2 separate regions of the Homo sapiens genome follow, and region 1 is linked to region 2. The links are contacts of gene promoters, found by promoter capture Hi-C in human tissues and cell types (Jung and others, 2019). All regions are on one chromosome and are shown on one strand. The core of a region is centred on a gene start or on the middle of the fragment in contact, and the rest is flanking DNA. Distances in the headings are between cores, read along the strand shown. Region 1 has its middle 3.8 kb from the start of RBM25. Region 2 holds the start of PNMA1 (PNMA family member 1).

What was found. Contacts are between HindIII fragments. The study calls those that stand out against the background at their distance.
Region 1: a fragment that was not itself captured here is called in contact with the fragment with the promoter of PNMA1 in region 2 in 1 of the 25 tissues and cell types used here (dorsolateral prefrontal cortex).

Annotation. Positions count from the first base shown.
Region 1 is chr14:73,053,255-73,056,158 of GRCh38, reverse strand. No RefSeq gene overlaps it. Among named protein-coding and RNA genes, the nearest start is that of RBM25, 3.8 kb to the left of the region's middle. The HindIII fragment of the contact is 3,860 bases long and covers 1-2,904 here.
Region 2 is chr14:73,712,494-73,715,633 of GRCh38, reverse strand. PNMA1 (PNMA family member 1) reads left to right here and starts at 1,250. Exons shown (of 1, transcript NM_006029.5): 1 at 1,250-3,140. The coding sequence starts at 1,995. The coding sequence ends at 3,056. MIDEAS (mitotic deacetylase associated SANT domain protein) reads left to right here. Exons shown (of 13, transcript NM_001367710.1): 13 at 1-512. RefSeq lists enhancers at 785-854, 1,795-1,854 and silencers at 1,075-1,354, 1,535-1,704. The HindIII fragment of the contact is 17,175 bases long and covers 1-1,618 here.

The DNA of each region.
Region 1 (2,904 bases), core at 160-2,659, 660 kb after region 2:
TTAGCTGGGCTTGGTGATGTGTGCCTGTAGTCCCAGTTACTTGGGAGGCCAAGGCAGGAGAATCGCTTGAACCTGGGAGGCAGAGGTTGCAGTGAGGCGAGATTGCGCCACTGCACTCCAGCCTGGGCAACAGAGCAAGACTCTGTCTAAAAAAAGCCAGGTGCAGTGGCTCACACCTGTAATCCCAGCACTTCAGGAGGCCGAGGCGGGTGGATCACCTGAGGTCAGGAGTTCGAGACCAGCCTGGCCAACATGGCGAAACCCTGTCTCTACTAAAAATAACAAAAATTAGCTGGGCGTGGTGGCAGGCACCTGTAATCCCAGCAGCTCAGGAGGCTGAGGCAGGAAAATCGCTTGAACCCAGCAGGCAGAGGTTGCAGTGAGCCGAGATCGCGCCATTGCACTCCAGCCTGGACAACAAGAGCAAAACTCGGTCTAAAAAAAAAAAAAAGAAAAGAAACCATCCTTCCACTACTCCAGATCCATGTACTTTGGATAGGAAGTCCCAACTCTAACCAGACCCCCTTAGGACACAGGAGTAAACTTACAACCTAATCAAAACCTGATGATTTAGTCACCCCTCCCTTTTTTTTTTTTTTTTTTTTTTGGTACTAGCCACTGTTTAAAGCATTTTGCAAATATCAACTCCTTTAATCCTCATAACAACCCCCTGAAGTAAGAACTATTGTGATACAAATGAAGAAACCAAGGCTTGCAAAAATTAACCTATCAAAGGCTACAAAAATAGTAAGTGAGCCAGTCTGGTTCCTGAGTTCGTGCTCTGGAACATTATACTGCTTCATCCTTTCAGGAATAATCCTAAAAAGAAGGGGAGGGGTCTCTATATTTTTCATTTAAATTGATTTTTTTTTTTCAATTTAAGCTTAGGAGGATTTAAGCTTAGAATAGATGGGGATGAGAATGAAATCACAGAAGAAAGCAGAAGTAAGACAGGGTGAGAGATTTTTGACAATATCAGTTGAGAAAATGGTTCATTCATTCATTTTGTTTGTTTTTTGGTTTGTTATTGCTGTTGTTATTTGAGATAGGGTCTCCCTTTGTTGTCCCGGCTAGAGTGCAGTGGCATGATCACGGCTCACTGCAGCCTCAACTTTCCAGGCTCCAGCGATTCTCCCACCTCAGCCTCCCAAAAGCCAGGATTACACTGAGCCCGGCTGGCTCAGCTACTCCTAAAGCCAGCTGTTCTAGGCTTATCAGTATGTAACCCAATACATTACTTTTCCGAAATCAGTTTGAGTTGAGTTTTCTATTCCTTACACAGAAAGAACTCTAAATGATACACTTATATACCACTTGTAGAGAACAAGCCAAGCCATTCATTTGCGATGCCAGTTATCCTCCTTCTATTTTTTTCTTACAAATCCTTGCTAAGGAAACTGTAGATAATTAATTTGGATATTACATTCTGTGTGCATTTGGACACCATTCTTTTTTTTTTCTTTTTTTTTTTTTTGAGATGGAGTTTTGTTCTCATTGCCCAGGCTGGAATGCAATGGCATGATCTCGGCTCACCGCAACTTCCGCCTCCCAGGTTCAAGCGATTCTCCTGGCATAGCTTCCCAAGTAGCTGGGATTACAGGCACATGCCACCATGCCGAGCTAATTTTGTATTTTTAGTAGAGGTGGGGTTTCTCCATGTTAGCCAGGCCGGTCTCCAACTCCCGACCTCAGGTGATCCACCTGCCACAGCCTCCCAAAATGCTGGGATTACAGGCATGAGCCACCACACCTGGCCTGGACCCTATTCTCATTGGCCACATCTGACCCAACTAAACAGCAGCATACCAGGAAAAATGTTGTTTAGCTGGAACTGAGCAGATCTTCTCAAAAATTGAAACTGGAGCCCAGCACAGTAGCACACACCTGTAGTCTCAATCATGAGGAGAGAGGATTGCTTGTGTGTGTGTGTGTGTTTGCGTGTGTATGCATGGCCATCATTATATATATATATATATATATATATATATATATATACACACACATAAATACATATACATACATAAATATATATATATATACAATGCCATTATATAGTATATAATGGCATAAAATATATAAATATAATACATATAATGCCATTATATATATAATATATGTGAATATATATAATATATATGTGTATATAGAGAGAAGAAGATAGAGAGAGGAAGCACATTAACACAGAATCTAGAGATCAAGGCTGGACTACCCAGCAAGGTGGAGTAACTGAAGTTTACCAAGTTAAGTCAGGACTCTGAAAGGATGTTAAAGTGCTCCCTTGTTAGTAATAGTCCTAGGCTCTTGACAGAAGCAAACATAGTTCCCATGGAGAAAAGAATCCCTAATTTAGGCTTCAGGATTCTGATATCAAATGTGAGCTTAAAATTTAAAAATGCAGGCCAGGCATGATGGCTCACGCCTGTAATCCCAGCGCTCTGGGAGGCTGAGGCGGGTGGATCACCTGAGATCAGGAGTTTGAAACCAGCCTGACCAACATGGAGAAACCCTGTCTCTACTAAAAATACAAAACTTAGCCAGGTGTGGTGGCACTCACCTGTAGTCCCAGCTATTTGGGAGGCTGAGGCAGGAGAATTGCCTGAACCCAGGAGGCGGAGGTTGCAGTGAGCCAAGATGGCACCACTGCACTCCACCCTGGGTGACACAGCGAGACTTAGTCAAAAAAAAAAATTGACCGGGCAATGTGGCTCACACCTGTAATTCCAGCACTTTGGGAGGCTGAGGCAAGCGGATCACCAGAGGTCAGGAGTTTGAGTCCAGCCTGACCAACATGGAGAAATCCCGTCTCTACTAAAAATACAAAAAATTAGCCAAGCATGGTGGTGCATGCCTATAATCCCAGCTACTCAGGAGGTTGAGGCAGGAGAATCGCTTGAACCTGGAAGG
Region 2 (3,140 bases), core at 1-2,500:
TTTACAGGAAGTAGGGATATTTTTATAAAACAATTGTGTCCTCCCCACATTTTGCTATGTTAATATTTGCTTCTAACAATTTGCAGCTGTTTCACTTTTTCCTCATTTGTCTCTAAGTTGAAGGCTTTGTTGGAGGGGACAGAGCACAGGAACAGCCTTGACAGTCTGTAATTATTGTACAGATATTTTAATAGCATATAAATAAGTATATTCCTTTTATTTTGAAACAAAAATGATCAGACACTGCCTTTTGTGTGTTTGCTGCCTGTGGCATCCTTTTTTAAAAAGACTGTTACATATTAAAATAGTGTACATATATAAATATTACCTCTTTTGCTGTACAGTTGTGATAGAGACTGAAGATTTTATTTTTTGTGTGCTTTTTATAAGAAAAAAATTAATACACTAAAGAATCTTGCTGATGTGATTGTAATGTACCTATGTAACTTATTTACTTTTGAATGTTCTTCTGTATCTTTAAACCTTTTATTAAATAAGGTTTTAAAAATTCAGAGTTGAATGCTTTGTTCTCTTGGGATTTTCACCATCTGGGGTTGATGTAAGTGCGCCTTGTCTTGCTTGCAGGGAGATTACTCGACATTTTTGAACCATAAGGATTCTCTTTTAGCAGCCTATTGTCAATGATGCCAGCCAGGAAAAGGAAAATAATACACTAATGTTTGCCTGGCTAAAAGATGACTCAGTAGACACAGACAGATTTTTACAAAATTTTAGACAAGAAAAAGTCTAAACTCAGTGTCTCACACAAATACACAGAAATGGCGCACTCCGACATTTTGGCTTCATTGGGATGAAATATGCAGGGTGCACAGTGTGGTCAGGGGCAACGGGAAGCCAGGGTTCTGAGGAGAGTATTTTCACGTGCAGGGTGGACTGGCTGAGCAACCCGAGTAGACAAGTCCACCATGAGGGATGCATTTCCAACAATATCATCTTAAATCCACTCCAGGATTGGGTTATTATTTTTAAAACACGGTGCTTAGTAGTAGTTGTTTACTGTTAAAATGCTAAATTATGAAAAAGGAAATGCGCCATCAGAGAAACAAATGCCCGAGCCCCTCGCTGGCTCCACGGCAACCGCTCGACCCCCGCGAGCCGCCGGAGCAGGCGTGCCTCGCGCCGGCTGGGACACCGTTGCCATGGAGACGCCCGAGCAGCTCCGCCGCGGGGGCGGGACGGGGCGGGGCGGGGCGGACGCCGCTCGCCGGCTGGCCCCATCCTCCACTGCAGCAGTAACGTCGCGGCGGGTTGCGGGTAGGACTGGACGCCAGAGCAGCCGCGCAGCGCCTGAACCGCTGCGGGCCGCCGCGGCCGCCCCTTCCCACCCTCGCCTCTGCTGTCTCCAGCCTCGCTTCTCCGACTTTCCTGCTCCTCTGCTGCCTTCGTTTCTGGTCCTCGGCCGTCCTCGCCGCCCGCCCAGAGGAGTCCCCGCGCCCGCCAAGAAGCCGCTTTCCGCTGGCCCGCAGCCGCCGCGACTTCGGCACAGTTTCTCCCTCTGGCTAGTCTCCCAAACGGCCGCTCCTCGCCCGCGGGAAGACCAGGCTGCGACCGCGAACGCCCGATCCTCTCCAGGAGCCGCAGCGAGCGCCCGGCGGCCACGCCCCGCGACCACACCCCGGCGGCTCTCGGCCCAGCGCGCCTGCCTTCGCCGCCCGCCGTCGCTCCTCGCCCGCTGCACGACGACGCGACGCCCCTGCTGCAGGCGGCGGACCCGACCGGACCCAGACCCAGACGCAAGATGGCGACGGCCGCGTGACTGCCTCAGCGTCCCCGAGCTCGGCTCCGAGTGCACCTACGGACTGACTGTGGGGGCAGAGAAGGGCGAGATCAGGACTCTGTCTTTGTTAATCGTGACTGCATGAAGGTCGCCTCCCTCGGGCCTACTTGGTGGGAGTGTCTGGTATTGTTCTAAGGCCAGGAGCACGGTGAGCCACAGTCTGTTGGTAGAATTTGGCGTCTTGATAGTTGAGAAAATGGCGATGACACTGTTGGAAGACTGGTGCCGGGGGATGGATGTGAACTCCCAGAGAGCTCTGTTAGTCTGGGGCATCCCAGTGAACTGTGATGAGGCTGAAATCGAAGAGACCCTCCAGGCTGCGATGCCCCAGGTCTCCTACCGAATGCTTGGGAGAATGTTCTGGAGGGAAGAAAATGCGAAAGCAGCCTTATTAGAGCTCACTGGCGCTGTAGATTACGCCGCGATCCCCAGGGAGATGCCGGGCAAAGGAGGGGTCTGGAAAGTGTTATTTAAGCCCCCAACTTCTGATGCTGAATTTTTAGAAAGATTGCACCTCTTCCTAGCTAGAGAGGGGTGGACCGTGCAAGATGTTGCCCGTGTCCTTGGGTTTCAGAACCCTACTCCGACCCCGGGCCCAGAGATGCCAGCAGAGATGCTAAACTATATTTTGGATAATGTTATTCAGCCTCTTGTTGAGTCCATATGGTACAAGAGGCTGACACTTTTCTCGGGGAGGGACATCCCAGGGCCTGGAGAGGAAACCTTTGATCCCTGGCTGGAGCACACTAATGAGGTCCTAGAGGAGTGGCAGGTGTCCGATGTAGAAAAGAGGCGGCGGTTGATGGAGAGTCTTAGAGGCCCCGCCGCTGATGTTATTCGCATCCTTAAGTCCAACAACCCCGCGATAACCACTGCCGAATGCCTGAAGGCGCTTGAGCAGGTGTTTGGGAGCGTTGAGAGCTCTAGGGATGCCCAGATCAAATTTCTGAACACTTATCAGAACCCGGGAGAAAAATTGTCTGCTTATGTCATTCGTCTGGAGCCTCTGCTACAGAAGGTGGTAGAGAAGGGGGCCATTGATAAAGATAATGTGAACCAGGCCCGCCTAGAGCAGGTCATTGCCGGGGCCAACCACAGCGGGGCCATCCGAAGGCAGCTGTGGCTTACCGGGGCTGGGGAAGGGCCAGCCCCAAACCTCTTTCAGTTGCTGGTGCAGATCCGTGAGGAGGAAGCCAAGGAGGAGGAGGAGGAGGCTGAGGCCACCCTTCTGCAGTTAGGCCTGGAAGGGCACTTCTGAGTGCCAGGAAAGGCAGCTTTAGTGCAGACCTAGATCACAGCTACTTTTCTTGTCCCTGTGGGGTCTTACAGATGTGTCTCTGAG